Linked DNA regions of Homo sapiens: all the other regions are linked to region 2. The links are contacts of gene promoters, found by promoter capture Hi-C in blood cells and fetal thymus (Javierre and others, 2016). All regions are on one chromosome and are shown on one strand. The core of a region is centred on a gene start or on the middle of the fragment in contact, and the rest is flanking DNA. Distances in the headings are between cores, read along the strand shown. Region 1 holds the start of CASP6 (caspase 6). Region 2 holds the start of RPL34 (ribosomal protein L34). Region 3 overlaps ELOVL6 (ELOVL fatty acid elongase 6). Region 4 overlaps MCUB (mitochondrial calcium uniporter dominant negative subunit beta).

Region 1 (4,263 bases), core at 245-2,744, 1.1 Mb before region 2:
AAGGTCAGGAGTTCAAGACCAGCCTGGCCAAACATGGTGAAACTCTGTCTCTACTAAAAATACAAAATTAACCTGGACATGGTGGCACATCCTGTAATCCCAGTTACTTGGGAGGCTGAGGCAGAAGAATCGTTTGAACCCAGGAGGCAGAGGTTGCAAAAGATCGCACCACTGTACTCCAGCCTTGGTGACAAAGCAAGACTGTCTCAAAAACAAAAGATTGTTGTTTAGTGTAGCTGCCTTTATCAATGATTTTAGCTAGATCTGGATAACCTGATGCAGCTTCTACGTTAGCACCTGCTGCTTCACCTTGCACTTTTATGTCATGAAGATAGTTTCTTTCCTTAAACCTCAGGAACCATCCTCTCTGCTAGCTTCCAGCTTTTCTTTTGCAATTCCCTCACCTCTCTCAGCCTCCATAGAATTGAAGAGTTAGGGCCTTGCTCTGGATTAGGCTTTGGCTTAAGGGAATGTTGTGGCTGTTTTTATCTTCTATCCAGACCAACTAGAACTTTCTCCATATCAGCAATAAGGCTGTTTAGCTTTATTGTCTTTTGTGTGTTTACTGGAGTAGCATTTTTAATTTCCTTCAAAATTTTTTCCTTTGCATTCATGACTTGGCTTTTCTCCTTTGCACTCACAACTTGGCTAACTGGAGCAAGAAGCCTAGCTTTCTGCCTACCAACATTACTTCCTCACTAACTTAATCATGTTTGCTTTTGATTTAAAGTGACAGGCTCTTCCTTTCATTTGGACACTTAGAGGCCTTTGTAGGATTATTAGTTGGCCTAATTTCAAAATTGTGTTTCCAGGAATAGGGAGGCCCCAGGAGGGGGAGAGAGAAGGGAAAGTTCGGTGGAACAGTCCAAACACATACAGGGCTTATGGATTAATTTCCCCTTCCTTTATGAGCGCGGTTCATGGTGCCCCAAAACAATTGCAATAATATTAAAGATTACTGATCACAGATCACAACAGCAGACATAATAACAATGAAAAATTTTGAAATATTGCGAGAGTACCAAAATGTGACACAGAGACACAAAGCGAGCCAATGTTGAAATACAGGCAGTATCTGCTAAGCGGTATAAAACAATCTATGCCTGTACCTCTAGAAAGTACAGGCATAGCAAAGTAAGGAATAGCAAATGTTTGGGGCAGCTGGGATTAAATGAGTCCGAGCTCACACAAGTGATGTGAAATTGCCTCGGGCTAGGCGGTCTGTGTGTCCCCCCGGGTGGCAACTGGCATGTCCCCAGGGCACGGTTAGTCCCAGCGGGCCTGGAGGCGAAGACCGCGTACCTCTCCCTGCCCCCGCGCTCTTGGTCCCCGCGGGCTCCGGAGCGACTGGGAGGAGCTTTAACTCTGGGAAGGACCAGCCCGATCCACGGGAGCCCGGGCGGCGCGCAATCAGAACCAACTGGCCCCACGCTCGGGGGCAGGGGGCGGGGCCGCCGAGGAAGGGCCGAGGGCGGGGCCGGGCCCGGGAGCCTGTGGCTTCAGGAAGAGGAGGGCAAGGTGTCTGGCTGCGCGTTTGGCTGCAATGAGCTCGGCCTCGGGGCTCCGCAGGGGGCACCCGGCAGGTAGGCAGGGGGCGTCGACTGGGCACCGAGCAGGTCTGCGTCTTGCTCCGGCTGGAGGGGAAACGAGGGTTAGTGGACCGGGCGCGCGGACCGGAGTGGGGCCGCGGGTTCCTTCGGCTTTGCAGGGCGGCCTGGAGAAGTTGCACTCTTGGATTGAAGCGCTCAGGGCGGGTGGGGACGGTTTCGCGCTTCAGTCTAAGAAACACTCGGGGACCTGGCTGCCGCCTCCTGGCGGTCCCGAGTAGCGACGCCGGCGCCGGGGCGTGCCCCTGCCGCCTTTGTCCTCCGGGGCGATGAGCGCTTTCGGGGCGCCCCGGCTGTTTAAACCTTAAAAGGCTGTCCCCACGCGGGCCTGGCGTTCCCCCACACCTGGCCGTTTGAAATGTTGGGGGTTGGATCTTTTGTTTGCTCACTTCGAAAAGTGAAAAGGAGGGGTTGTTCCGCCGAGTCATAATGAAAACATAACAGGCCCGCGGGGTGCCCGGGCCAAGACCCTGGGTCCTCCCGGGCTTCAGCTGGAGGCGGCCAGTTCCTGGCGGCCAGCACACCCCGGTATCTCTCTTCTTCATCCAGGAAACCTGCTGCTGTCTGTCGGTTTGAGCCAAAACCACAATAACTTTTTTCTGCAAAGTAATCAACTGCTAAGAGCGTACGTTCTGTCACTTATTACTGGTAAAGTTTAGAAACTTCAAGCCTGGCCAGAGTGAAACAAACAAAAAGGTCGAAACGCCTGCAGTTGGCCGGCCGTGGTGGCTCACGCCTTGTAATCCCAACACTTTGGGAGGCCGAGGCGGGCGGATCACCAGAGGTCGGGAGTTCTCGACCAGCCTAACTAACACGGTGAAACCCCGTCTCTACTAAAAATACAAAAAAATTAGCCAGGCCTGGGCGCAAGCTACTGGGGAGGCTGAGACAAGAGAATCGTTTGAACCCTGGAGGTGGAGGTTGCAGTGAGCCGAGATCGCCCCACTGCACTCCAACCTCGGCGACAGAGTGAGACTTCGAATCAAGAAGAAAAAAAAAAAAAAAGAACGAAACGCCTGCAGTTGGTTAGAGTGCCTTTGTTTAAGAACTCTTTATATTTTGCTGCACAAAGGAAATGGTGCTCCAGAGGCAAGCTGTAAAAGTCACATGGTCGTAGAGGAGGTAGATAGGTAGCCTTGTCCTGGAGGCACAGTGCAGGGTCCAGTTGCAGTCTCTAGGGGCGGGAAGCCGGGGCTTTCCTTCACTCACCTGCTCCCTTCCTCTTCTTCCTCCACCGCACTCCCCAGTGCATGTTCTAGGCCTGATGGAGGTTACTCTACATAGGGTTACTAAATACATTGTTGATGGAGCCGATGGGTAGATTTTCATAGAGAGTGCAGTGAATGAAGACGATGACAGTAGAATGACCGAAGTCGTTTGGGAAGTTGAACAAAGTTTAGAAAGGTAGCCGGTCTCGGGTGGGAGGGGCTGCGTGGGGATGGGCCTACAGAGACTTTGGAATCTGTAGGTGGGCTGGCTTTCAATCCCAGCTTCACTTTGCCGACCTTGGCACGCCTGGCCCACTTTCTCTGTCCCTGTTCCTGAGCTGTGGAGCTGTGAGATAAGGTATCTAAGGCATCAGGCCATCAACAAATGGTAGCTGGCAGGATTATCTGGAGGGACTATCAAATTAGAGTGAGGTGAAAAAAGGAATGATTAGTTTTGTAAAACCTAAGCTGATTTAAGGAATAAGGAGGTGGCAGTTACATTATCCTGCAAAGGAAGAGAAGTGAAAAGAGGGCCAGACACAGTGGTGGGCGCCTCTAGTCCCAGCTACTGGGGAGACTGAGGCAGGAGAATCGCTTGAAACCTGGAGGTGGACTTGCAGTGAGCCAAGATTGCGCCACTGCACTGCAGCCTGGGCGACAGAGGGAGGCTCTGTCTCAAAAAAAAAAAGTGAAAAGAGGTCAAGAATCAGGTTTAAAGAAGGGCACATTTTTGATAAGTAGATTGCAGATGAAAAGGAATTTCTATATCTGTTATACAGGGTAGCTCCTTCATTAAAATTTATTTTCTCCATATCAATAAAGCTATTTCTTACTTTATCCAGGTTTTTAAATATTAACGCAGGCCGGGCGTGGTGGCTCATGCTTGTAATCCCAGCACTTCCAGGAGGCTGAGGCAGGTGGATCACTTGAGGCCAGGAGTTCAAGACCAGCCAGGACAACATAGCAAAACCCTGTCTCTACTGAAAATACAAAAAAAAAGTAGCTGGGTGTGGTGGCGCATGCCTGTAATCCCAGCTACTCAGGAGGCTGAGGCGGGAGAATCGCTTGAACCCGGAGGCGGAGGTTGTGGTGAGCCGAGACCACGCCACTGCACTCCAGCCTAGGCAACAGAGCAAGACTCCATCCCAAAAAGATAGTAATAAAAAATAAATATTAATGCGGCATAATGATACTTAAGTGCCCCCTTCTGGAAAGCTTGTCTTCTTGGGATACACAGCTCAAGGTGGTCATGATGTGTTATTTTCTCTCAATCTGTGGGTAAAGTTTATCAACTCCAGAAAAGTATTGGAACTTAGGTCCTGGCATCTGTCTCCATAGCTTTTTGTTCTGATTCAGTGTTTGCTAGAGTGGCCACTGGACCTGGTCATTAACTGGTACTGCAGGATGCAGGGTGCACTTTGTGAGAGTGAAGGTAAGTTACAGCTGGC
Region 2 (4,242 bases), core at 480-2,979:
TCTTAGTGGTAACCTCTCCTTGATTCATTCCATCGTCAAGGGATGAAAGCTCAGTAAGTTCAAGACTTGTTAGGCTGCACACAGTAAAAGGTACACTTACCCCTCGAAGTCTGCCTGGGCACACACCACATGCAGATTTTGGTGCTTTCCCAACCTTCTTGGTATAAAGGTAAACAATTCTATTACCAGGGGTTCGGGACCTAGAAAGTGAAACAGTCAGTAGGTCAGCATTTTGTAGAGTAAATGACAATATATACTTAAAATTTTCAGAAATACTTACAGCCTAGTTTTGTTAGAGGCTGTATTGTAGGAAAGCCTACGTCGGTATGTCAAACGCTGGACCATTCTGAGTGCCTAAATTAAGAATAGAGTAACATCAAATCTTTCCATTGTAAAAGTAAATAAAATCTCAAAACAGTATCATGTGGTCTATTTCATTCACATACATATCCTTGTATGTAACACCCTTAAATTAAGATGTATTATTCCACATTTTAAAACTACTTGTATTTAAAGGTGACTGATAAACAAGAGGCCAAGAATGTTAGCTTTCCTGATGGTAATCAAACGTGGCACTTCCTTAACGTTCTGATGACCAGGCTCCTTACTCAGAGTCTAATTTTGTTTGGAGTGGTGTCCAGAAAAGTGCCACGAGCCCAGTTGGAGAAACACCGCTTTAAACAAAGAGCACAAAAAGTGAGCTCTGAAGTCGAATCCTTAGCTATGCCATTTACTGGGAATATAAAGGGCAAGGAGCTAGCCTCCTTATCTCTAACATGGGAATTCTGTCTACTTTATACAGCTGTCATTAGGATTAAACGACGTGGGCTATCCGTCCCAACACAATGCCTGGCACATATCAGGGTTCAATGTCTTGCCCTAAAGCACCACCTGCGTAAAGGCATACCCTTTAATACTAATTTTGATATTACACAAGTTTCTTTGGGTTATGGCACCTGCTTTCTTCCCACTTCTGGAAACATCGTGATGTTATTTAGCAAATCGGTTATACAGATATGCATACGAGCAACTTCGTTAAGGGAACTACCCAACGTAAAACATAATCAATACTTGAACTAATTTAATCTTCCCATTCCACCCCTTGTAACCACCTCATTTGTTGTCACAAGCCTCTCACTAAAATTAAACTAAAACAGAATTACCAGACACCAAAACTTGACACGTAAAACCAGTGCGAGTGATTTATGAAGCCATTATTCTGTTTGCATCTCCAAAAGCAAGACAGAAACTTCTAACACATTTTTCTCTTCCTTGACATGGGCCTTGGACGCAGAAGCCAAATAGCGAAACCACCCGAACTCGCCGGACCCTGCCCTCCCAAAGACTAAGGACACGTACAGGCGTGCTGTGAAAACGTGGGTGTAAAATATGAAAACGTTTGGCGATTTTCCAGACTCAAACCGCCAAACCACAACTCGTTAGTCTCCAAACGCTACACTTGGAATGCAGCAAAGTCCCGGGTGGTGAGCTGTGGCTACTCACGGCTTTGGAGGTGCCACCAGGAACAAGGGATTTCCAAAGATCAAAGTAAGGAACTTCCTCACCACCAACCTCCCTGTTGTGCCCCTTACCCCTACACCAGCTCAAAGGACTGCTTCTGAGAGCTCTAGGCTTCCTCAGCTCCTCGGATGGCAGCCGATTGGTAAGGAAATAAAGACAGGGAAAAGAGAACAACATCCATACCTGCAGACAACGTCCCCGGAAGAGGAAGAAAAAAGCCTTTGCCAGTTCAAAGGTCAAATAGAATTGCGCAGGACAGGAAGTTGCGTCAGAGAGAGAGTATCCGTGTTGTACGGAAGCCGACGCACCTCTCCGACGTGGGCAGAGATGCAGGGAACCACCACGTTGTACGGCAACCAACGTGCCGCCCCTCTGTGGGCGGGGATTCACACTAGCTGTCTGTGTCAAGGCCACGCAGAAATCTATTGGAAATCGCTGTGGAAACAAACGCAAATGAAAAGCCGCAAAGAGCAAAGGTGGGACAAAATCAACTTCTTTCGTTGTCATGGACACTGCACTTTTAATCTAAAGGGCGCCAGCTCTGGCGTTAGACCTGGGTTTAAATCCCAACTCTTGACATTTATGGTTAAGGGACCTTCAAGGACCAGGGACCTTCAAGAACCTTCCCTTCTTCAACCTTCCCTTCTCTTTCCTTGTCATTTATTCAGAGCACAAGCTTTACAAACAAATTGGGATTTTAATCCAGTGTCTGCTAATTATTAGCTATGTTACTTTGAGCAAGCCCTTAAATCTCTAAAAGGAAGATATTAGGAACTACCGTGCCATGTTATGTCATGATCAAAGGCATTATGAAGTTAAAGCACTTAGCACAGGGTCTTATAGAGAGGAAGTGCTCAGTAAATGGTTGCTAATCTTATGATTATGTACAAAGAACTACTTGAGGCTTTTCATGGGTGGTAAAGTTTAACCTTTAAAACAGTATGTAAAATTTTACATTAAGCGCACGTGTGTATTTTTCTGAGAAGAGGGTCCCTGGCTTTCATCACCTTGTCAAAGGGATTCATGACCTCTAAAAAAGTAAAGAACTCTTTGCCTGGGCTGTAAAAGACAATTCTAAAAGGGGCCTTTAAGTTTTTAATCTTAGATCAGGCTCCCTGGAAACACACCTCGAAGAGACTTGAGTGTTGGCTTATGGGGAGCGCTCTTAGAATGCACCTCCAGGAAGCTGAGAAAGGCGGGGTCAGGTGATCCACAACGTGGTTGCTGTGAGGCAGCTGCATTGCCCCAGAAGAGAGGATTTGGATAGGATATCCCAGTACCCACTCAACTTTCCTTCTAGTATTTCTAATCCATCTAGCAAACCAAGAAAGCAGGCAAGTGACTGAGGGCATGTAGTCTGTCTTGAACTGTGAGGCCTATTGATTCTATCAAGCCTCACATCACTGCCATCTTTGTCACAACACCAGATGGAAGGCTCTGGTTATATCCTTCCCTCTGCTCACTCTCAAATAGCTGCTTCTCCCCCGACCTTGTCATCAGCTACTTCCCTCCTTTCCAGTCCTTTGATTTTTGTCCTCTGAAATCCTTTTCGTCTCTGTGCCAGGCATTGAGATGGAAGCTTGCATAGAGAGACAAATGTGGTTTTTGAATAAATGCACTAATGAATGTATTTACTTGCAATATGTTCTCTATATTTTAAGAGAGACTTTGCAGAGCAGAAGAGAACAGGAGATGGGAGCCCTTGGCACACTATGCTGTTGTTTACGTCTCTGTCCGTGCCTTCCCCCACCCAAGTAGATAAGAATAGTGGTCTCATTGTTGTAGTTTTCCCTTAAGGTACTTAACCCAGTTCCATAATACTATTTTTCCCTCTCTTTAAATTTGTATTTGCATTTTTTCTTGATCAGTCTTGAGAGAGATATGGCAATCTTATTAAAAACTTCAAAGACAGCCAGGTACAGTGGCCCATGCCTGTTAATCCTAGCACTTCGGGAGGCTGATACAGAAAGATCACTGAGACCTGTAGTTAAAGATCAGCCTGGGCAACATAGCGAGACGCCCATCTCTACAAATTTTTTTTTTTTAATTAGCCAGGTGTTGTAGCACACACCTTTAGTCCCACCTACTCAGGAGGCTGAGGCTGGAGGATCACTTGAGCCTAGAAGTTTGAGGCTGCAGTGAACCATGATTGTGCCACCATACTCCAGCCTGGGCAACAGAATGAGATCCTATCTCAATAATAATAATAATAATAATAAATGTATGAAACTTTGGTATATGACAAAGGTAATATATCAGATTGGTGGGGAAAGATTGGTGACTATTCAGTAAATGAAGTTGGGAAAAATGGTTATACATATGGAAAGAAAAAATTGTATCCTTAAGTCACTCTACACTGAAAAAAAAAACCTTAAATGAGTCAATAATAAGGCTTTAATTTATTAGGAAATATAGGTGACTATCTTATAGACGTTGGAGTAGAAGAGGATTTTTTAAACAAGGCACAAAAAGCACAAACTCAGAAAAGACCAATAAATCTGACCACATTACAATTAATAGCTTTTATCAAAAAACCCTTAAATAAAAAAATGTTAAACCTCAAAGTTTCCCAGTCCAAGCCAAAAAAAGTATGATAGGTTCACCTTATTTTAATTTCACAAAAATTTGTAAAATATTTATTAAGTGCACACAGAAATTAATGAACAGAGAACAAAGACAGATTAAAAAAACAAATGAGATTCTTTAGGCCGGGTGTGGTGG
Region 3 (4,138 bases), core at 946-3,445, 1.6 Mb before region 2:
GGTTGTGGCAGAGGCATTCCTCTCCTCCCCTTAACTTCGGGTCTGGCGATCTGTAAAGTTCAAGCCCAACGCACCCCGGAGCTAGGCAAGGGGCCGGCAGCCCGGGGGATGGCTTGACCGGGGAGGGTCGGGCCGCAGGGTCTCCCGGGAGCCGGGGGATTCCGCCCGCCGCGTGCGCGAGCGCGCGTGCCCCGCGCCCTCCCGCCTGCCCTCTTCAACTGGAAACCAGAAACGCCGGCGCGCCTGTGGCCTGGGCGGGTTGGTGCAGTAGGAGCTGGTGCCACGGGGCCGCAGCTGCGAAAAGGGGGTTTCAACTTCCTGTCCTCCAGCCCCCTGGAGTCGCCGGCCAGTGTCGGGAGGCCCGGCCGCCGCTTCCTTCTCCTCCCGCCCGGCCGGAGCGCGCCCACTCCCAGCTTCCCGCGGGCTGGTCCGGGCCCCAATGGCCATTTGCGGCGGCTGCCGGGCGGAGCCCGCCTCCTGGGCCGCGCGCACCGGCGGGGCAGGCCTGCTTGGGGTGAGCTGCGGCGTGGCTGGTGGCGGCGGTGGGCTAGGGGCCCAAGGGCCGCGTCTGGCCCGAGCCGGAGCCTAAGAGGCGGGGACGCGGGCCGCTCGGAAGGACTGGAAGTGCAGCAGCCACACAGGCACAGGGCTGGTGCCCTCCCGGGCCGCTGAGGCCAGGGGGTGCAGGGGTGGGTCCGGAAGGAGGTTGGACACTAAGGGTCGAGACCGCAGATAGACCTCGGCGTTTCGGGGCAGCCGAGGCCCCTCGAGCCCCACCGCCCGGGGTCCTTCTCTGGATGCACTTCCTCCTCCCGCTTAGGGGGTGGTGCTGGAGGCGGGGAGGGGGCGGTGGCCGGAGCCGGCGGGCGCCGGAACCGCGCTGCTGGCTAGCCCCGGGCCCGGGTCTTCTCCGCACATGTTTGTCATATCCTCCAGCCGGCCTGTTCGGGCCCACAGTCCTCCCGCATTAGCCTGTGTGGTCAGTGTGGTCAGCATTTGCTTCTGTGCCGAATCTCTGACTTGCTGCGTCCTGGTTTAACCTGCTCTTCCGGAGTCCGCTTTCCCTCGCTTTGCTGGCTGACCCCATTCACTGTACGCCCGCCATTCCTAGCCCACTGCAGTCGATACTGCCTCTTATTTACTTGTTGCTTTTTCTCTGAGGCCACTTCCTAGGCCTGCTTCAGGTACCATTTCCCGCCTCTTCTCTCCATTCACTCAGTACTGAGCCAGACAGGTCTCAGCCCTCGTGGGACTGAAAATGACAAAAATGTGCCAACGTATCTACTCCTGTTAGGTTCTGACCACTGTTTCCTCCTAGTTCTTTATCTGTACCTTTCTTCTGGCAATATCCTTTACTGTTATATACATGGTTATTAACTTACAGACCATCAGCTCTTCAGGTTACGGTTCTTGTCATCCCACTCTTGATTCTGCAAAGCACCTAGCAGAGTGCTTTGCATAAGGCACATTCTTGAGAAAATGTCCAGTGAGTTGAAATGGTGATTGGTGCCCATTTTATTGCCAGCACTACTCGTTAATACCCGAAGGTTAACAGGCTAGAACTTGCATACCGTGGCAGAGTCACATCTTGGGATTTTTCCCTTCCTGGCTTCTGCTCTCTGTTGATGTTATGTTCTTAGATTGCTTATTGCAGTCAAAGAACCCTGCTGGCTGTTACCCCTCCCTTGCAACTCTTCCTGACCCTAATTGTCTTACTTTCATGTTTTTTTTTAAATGCCAGATTTTGTGCATTTCTCCCAATATCCCAGGGTGCCCAATTTTATCTCTCCTCCCTCCCCAAAAACTGTACAGCCAAAAAGACTTTAAACACTTTTTAAAATTTAATTTTATTAGCCGGGTGTGGTGGCTCCTGCCTGTAATCCCAGCACTTTGGGAGGCTGAGGTGGGTGGATTACCTGACGACAGGAGTTCGAGACCAGCCAGGCCAATATGGTGAAACCCCATCTCTACTAAAAATACAAAAAAATTAGCCGAGCGTGGTGGCGGGTGCCTGTAATCCCAGCTACTCGGGAGGTTGAGGCAGGAGAATTGCTTGAACCCGGGAGGTTCAAATTAAAGCTTTTAGTTTTTATTTTTAATAGAATCCAGCTAATGCAGGACAAAAAGTCTTGAACCAGATTTTCTTTTCACTCCCTTTTTAATAGGAGAAGGGAACTCCATAACCAAGGCTTAGACCCTCTTGAGGAGAGAGGAACTTGAGGAAACCATAAAATCTTACCTTTTTCAGACTCATTAACTTAAAATGGTTTGAAATAGCTTCTGGAGGAAAAACATGATATAGTGAAGCTTCTACTCTGTCTTTTGGGAATTTATGGTTGTCCTTATAAATCTCTTCTTAGTAACAGGCAAAACTTGTTAATTTAGAGAATTAAAACATCCTCTCTCAAAAGTGAACTACATTGGCTTTTGAAGAACTGTGAGAATGGCCAGGAGTAGTATTTTGCCAGTATGCTGCCTTTGCTAACTAGCATCATTTAAGAGGACCTAAAATAAGAATACTTTATTAAACATACGCTATAATCCATACTTACTAACCATAGCGCAAATTAATGTTAACATACCCTATAATCCATACTTACTAACCATAGCACGTGTTAATGGAATGGGGCCCGACTTTTGGAGTAGCATTTGTATAAACCCTAAAGGGTTCAACTGAGGCTAGTTTTCAAGTTTATTGCTGCTTTAATGAATCATTAACCTCATACTCATTGGCCTAGCCATGAAAGTAAATACTGCAGACTTTTTTTACTTTGCTAGCAAAAAGTTTCATATATAATAGGTTAGAATAGCAATTGAAATGCAAAGTAATAAGTGTATTCCCTTGTAGAATCATCCTGGGCCTCATCTTGAAACTACATGTCCAGTGAAAAATATCCTGTCTGGTTATATTATCTGGTCAATGAGAGTTTATTACATGAGGTAGAGAAAAATGTCTGCTCATAGGTCCAAATAGGAGTTTTGAATTCTAATTTTCACTGAAAAGTCCTTGCAATTTTACAACATTGAAAATAGAGACATTTTGCTCTTTTATGAGATGTCTGGCCTTTACCTGTTTTTCTCACTAAGAGCTGACTTAAGTTGGAAGTGCTGCTAGCCAGGGAGCAAAATCACCTGGTGATTGCTAAGGCGACATATAATTCATTGAGTGAGAAGGGAAGCTGGGCTCTCTCTGCCTTCTCTTTCAGCAGCCTGCCAGGTTTGTGCTAACAGCAGTGGATGCTAGTTGCTCCAGTTGTAATTGTCTAGCCAATGATGATTATCTTCTGATGTCGGCTGACACGGTGCCCACCAATAGGAAAGCAGGAGGCCTGTGCTGACTGCTGTAACATTATGTATGTGAGGTGACGTCTTCAAAGGGCTTGCCTAGAACTTCATGAAACCCTCCCCCTCTCCTGGCATTCTCCACACATCCAGCCTTTCAAAGCTTTATATATTTTTCTGACTTTTCTCCCCACTCACTCCCTTGGTGGTGTAAAAGGGTTTACTTGTTTTAACATTTTGTATTCTGTATTATAGAGTCTATAAGATAGTATAGGAATTTTAAGAATTAAATGCTGTTCAGCTGAGGAAGCCTTTTTATTCACAAATTTGTTTTTACCAAAGGTAAAAATGGAGTGAAACATTTTATTTTATTTTGTTTTATTTTTGAGACAGGGTCTCACTCTGTTGCCCAGGCTGGAGTGCAGTGGCACAATCTTGGCTCACTGCAACCTCTGCCTCCGGGTTCCAGTGATTCTTATGTCTCAACCTCCCAAGCAGCTGGGATTACAGGTGCCTGCCATGACACCAAGCTAATTTTTGTATTTTTAGTAGAGATGGGAATTCACCGTGTTGGTCAGGTTGGTCTTGAACTCCTGACCTCAAGTAATCCGCCCACCTCGGCCTCCGAAAGTGCTGAGATAACAGGCTTGAGCCACTGCAACCGGCCGTGAAACATTTTAAAAGGAGTTGTACATCTATATCTTTTTTGTAGGTGAAGTTTGGAAAGTAACACGATGTACAATTTCATGATTAAAGAACATAAAAAGCACTAAAAACCTGTGTTAGCATTTAACTCAAATATAGCAGCATAAAAAATATAGCAGCATAATGTTAATGAAACTGTTCAAATGCAGAC
Region 4 (4,084 bases), core at 1,585-4,084, 1.0 Mb before region 2:
TGGCTTATTTCCACAGATTTTTGCTAAAGAACTTCTTCAGGAAGAAGAGAACTAAACTCAAGTGGAAGCTGAATAGAACACTATTATGAGCTGAACTGTGCCCCACCCCCTGCAAATTCATATATTGAAGTCTTAACCCCTAGTACCTCAGAATGTGACTGTACTTTAAAGAGGTTAAGTTAAAATGAGGTCATTAGTATAGGCCCTAATCCGACATAACTGGTGTCTTTACAAGAAGTGGTGATTTGGACAGACATGTACACCCAGAAGAAAGACGGTGTGAGGACACAGGGAGAAGACAGCCATTTACAAAACAGCCATGTACAAGCCAAGAAGGCTTCAGAAGAAACCAACTGAGCCAACACCTTGAACTTTAACTTTTGGCCTACAGAAGGGTGGCGAGGAAGGTTTCTAAACAGTGGAGGCGCAATTAGTGTGGGTGTCATAGCCCAAATGGGATGAAGACGGCCTCCACATGGGAAATAGGCTCAGAAAAAAATGTTGGAGCCCAGTTGGGGTAAGAAAGCCATCTCTGCAGGGGAAGGAGTGGTAGTGGAGATGAAAGACTGTCACATGCAGAAGAAAAAAATATATCAAGAATAATGGAAGTCAGATTTATCCTGTGCAAGAATGGAACTACAATTATGGAAAGGGAGTAGAATAAACCCTGTAGTGTTAGACTGAAGTACTGGTGTGAATTCATGGTTTTTAATGTGTAATAATGTAAAGAAATATAATTAAATGAAATTAAATATAAAATTTTTAAAAGATGCAAATGTTTAATGTACGTGTGTATGTAAGTATAGAAATTTTAAATTTTACATATTTATGTTTTCATACTGACATATATATGTATATGTATATTCTCTTTCTGAGAGAGCCTATGAGCAGTGGCACTTCTAATAACATCTAGCATCTAGCTCTTGGCACCAGATACTATGCTTACCTAAGAGGAAGCAAGCCTCCTTGGAGAAATGGCTATTCTAGGGCTGGGCATGGATAAGGACAAAATGAACCTAGAGCATCTTGCTGTACTAGAAAGCAAGGAAGTGCTCAATGGATGATGGAAGACTTATCAAAAGAACCCAGAAGGCAGGTCAAAGGGTGTCCCTGTGGTAAAATCTGGAACAATTTTTAGCATTAAATAATGATAGTAACAAATTATAATCCACTGAAGGAGATAGGAAACCATGAGTGTATTCTGACATAATTAACTGAATAAATTTAAAGTTTAATAAGGAATGAGATATTTACACAGTTTTAAAATGCCTTCACACAAAAGCATTAATCCCAAAGGAAAAATAATAACTTCAAAGGGAAGAAGCCTGACAGATACCATCTTAATTGATCAAAATTAATATTATCAGTAATGGGGTGAGTTGAAATCATGCAATGAGAATACATGGGACACTTTTGAGATATTCCCGACAAAGATGCTATATAATCTGAAGCAAATCACAAGGAAATACCAGACAAACCCAAACAGAGGCATTCTACAAAATAATTGTAATCTTTAAAAGAGTCAAATCATGAATGTCAAAGAATGTTGTACTGATCCAGAGTGGAGGAGACATGACAACTAAATTAAACTGTGATTCTGAACTTCTGCCAATAAAGAACATTATTGGAAAAATTGGCAAGATTTTAATGAGGTCTAAAAATTAGATGGTGGTTATGTACTAACATTAATTTTCCTATTTTGATGGTTGTTTGTCATTAAGTTGGAGAATGTTCTTATGTTTCAGGGGAACTGGCATCAAGTTTGCAATGTATTCTCAAATAGTTCAGAAACAAAATAGTCTTCCCACTGTGGTTACAACTTTCTTTATGTTATGTTTGAGACTGTTTCAAAATCACACAATTCTGAGAGACTGGTAGGCCAGGGTAAAAAAAATTAATAATTCAAAAACAATAGGTTTACAACACCAAAATTACCATATACAAAGATAAGTGATTAATAACAAGGGGTCAAATATTAAACCTTTTTTGCATGCCAGTAGGAAACTATGGTTACTTGGGAAATTGAAAATAAAAAATTTTTTAAAGCAAAGACACTCCTGTACAAGTTTTTATTTAGAAACCCCAAGAATATTGACAATCCTCAGACATGTTAGTAAAGCTTAAAAGAGAAACTACCATACCCTGTAACAACCCTTTTTAGAGGGTTATTATTAAAATTCTGAAAATCTTACACAAACCCATCATGCATGCAGAGCTGAATTTCAAGAATGACTCACCAAAACTCAGGTCTTCCTTTTAGTTTACACCTCACCTCAAACCCATCTTGAGGAGCCTACCATTCCCCCCTTGATAGGGGGATATGATAGTTTTGAATAAACAAATGGTATGAACCAAATCTGTTGCTTTTCATTTAATCCAGTTAGCCGGGCTGCTCCTCCATACCACACCTGGGTTCAGATTCCCCAAATCAGGCCCCACTTCTCAAATCTAAGGATTCTCAGGATGAGTCCTTAGATTTAAGAAGTATAATGAGTCCTAGCTGGACGCAGTGGCTCATGCGTGTAATCCGAACACTTTGGGAGGCTGAGGCAGGAAGATTATTTGAGCCCAGGGGTTCAAGACTAGCCTGGGCAACAGGGTGAAACCATATTTCTATTTTAAAAAATCATAATAAATGAGTCCCAGGCAGGAAAAATGAAATTAACTCTGTCCCTGACACAATGTGATGAAACTACAGAACCCCAGAAACAAAAAATTCTTATAATGCCTGAAAAAAAAAGAGATTGCCTACAAAGGAAAGCAATTAAATTTACATAAGGTGAATTAATAGACGGCAGAGGCAAAGGAGTATCTTCAAAGTTCTGAGGGGAAATAACAATCAACCTTGAATTCTATAGTCAGATAACCTACCATTTTGAACAAAACTGAGACTGAGCGACTAAAACATGTTTACTGAAAGCATTTTGCAGGAAAAAGGAAATCAAACACATAAGAAAACAGGATGTAAGAAAACTTACACACCACAGGATGTAAAACTAAATGAAGAGAGAAAAAAAGTGTGTACTTCCAAACCAATAGAGATAAAGGAGTATAAAAAAACATTTAGCCAAATTATGAGAAGATAAGAAAGGAGAAAGAAAATGAGCAAAGGAAAATCAGGATGAACAGAATGCACAGAATAAGGTGGTAGATAGATATCCACATTTGTCTGATATCACAATAAATGTAAACAGATTAAACTCAACAGTTAAAAGGACAGAAGTTGTTGGATTTATAACAACACAGACTGAGGGTTTAACTACTCATAGGCTTTCATTGAAGGCACTACTCAGCTGTAGTGAACAAAATGTAACACGAACAAGGAATAAGAATGCATGAGAAATTCTGAACAAGCAAATTGGTAAAATATATGCATAAAATAAATAAAAACTCCATCATTTTAAATGTTGTTTTCCGTGTCACTTAATATAGCGTACTTTTGTACTCCACAGAAACAAGAAATTCTTGTGTGAGGCAAGAAAAATGGTGCTTTTGGGGTTAGGCTGCTTTGTACTCCTCAGTTACATAGTTGTTTTGCTTTGAAGCTTGTCTTTGGGTTCATTAGTTCTACATCCTGTGGTGCATCATGATCTTTTGTAGAATCTCACACTGAGCGTCAAGCTTTAATGATTTTTTTTTTTTTTTTTGCTTCTCTGTACCAAAAAAAAAAAAAAAAATCAAACTGCTATATAGGAGCTCTCTTTTGATGAACTCTTACTTGCCTCTAGATCTATGTATCTCCCTAACAAAAACTGCATTTTGTAGCACAGACTAGAAAGTTATCTTAATATTTCAGTCTCAGGTACTACATGAATCATCACTGTGAAAATAAATTTTTTCTTCTTCTGGTCTGGACAGCCCAAGACGAGTAGTTAATCCACAAAATGACTGAAACAGAACAGAAACAGAATACGTTTGGCATTTGGCTAATACAGTACAGAAACAGAATACATACATACAATATTTGGCTAGCAGCCAACAATAACTTCCACCTACTGTAATTTCTCACCAGCTCCCTCTCAGCTAGACTGTATTTACATCCCTTCTGAGAACCAGGCATTTAAGTCAGTCATCCCTTTGGAAC

What was found. Contacts are between HindIII fragments. The CHiCAGO score rates a contact against its expected background, and 5 or more counts as called.
Region 1: the fragment with the promoter of CASP6 here is called in contact with the fragment with the promoter of RPL34 in region 2 in 13 of 17 cell types (naive CD8 T cells, non-activated CD4 T cells, fetal thymus and 10 more); the score reaches 16.9 in naive CD8 T cells.
Region 3: a fragment that was not itself captured here is called in contact with the fragment with the promoter of RPL34 in region 2 in 1 of 17 cell types (total CD8 T cells); the score reaches 5.6 in total CD8 T cells.
Region 4: a fragment that was not itself captured here is called in contact with the fragment with the promoter of RPL34 in region 2 in 1 of 17 cell types (naive CD4 T cells); the score reaches 5.3 in naive CD4 T cells.

Annotation. Positions count from the first base shown.
Region 1 is chr4:109,700,676-109,704,938 of GRCh38, reverse strand. CASP6 (caspase 6) reads left to right here and starts at 1,494. Exons shown (of 7, transcript NM_001226.4): 1 at 1,494-1,583. The coding sequence starts at 1,544. RefSeq lists enhancers at 1,073-1,122, 2,013-2,072, 2,833-2,892 and silencers at 1,283-1,572, 1,723-1,832. The HindIII fragment of the contact is 4,197 bases long and covers 1-4,032 here.
Region 2 is chr4:108,618,063-108,622,304 of GRCh38, reverse strand. It overlaps RPL34 (ribosomal protein L34), which reads right to left and starts at 1,729. Exons shown (of 5, transcript NM_001319236.2): 1 at 1,705-1,729; 2 at 281-354; 3 at 101-200. The coding sequence starts at 345. It overlaps RPL34-DT (RPL34 divergent transcript), which reads left to right and starts at 1,848. Exons shown (of 4, transcript NR_026968.1): 1 at 1,848-1,997. RefSeq lists enhancers at 1,717-1,766, 992-2,191. The HindIII fragment of the contact is 3,742 bases long and covers 1-2,199 here.
Region 3 is chr4:110,193,134-110,197,271 of GRCh38, reverse strand. All of the region lies in intron 1 of ELOVL6 (ELOVL fatty acid elongase 6), which reads left to right. Among named protein-coding and RNA genes, the nearest start is that of ELOVL6, 3.4 kb to the left of the region's middle. RefSeq lists silencers at 1-620, 821-930 and an enhancer at 665-959. The HindIII fragment of the contact is 228 bases long and covers 2,082-2,309 here.
Region 4 is chr4:109,648,288-109,652,371 of GRCh38, reverse strand. The region is part of intron 1 of MCUB (mitochondrial calcium uniporter dominant negative subunit beta); the gene reads right to left. Among named protein-coding and RNA genes, the nearest start is that of CASP6, 53 kb to the left of the region's middle. The HindIII fragment of the contact is 1,426 bases long and covers 2,122-3,547 here.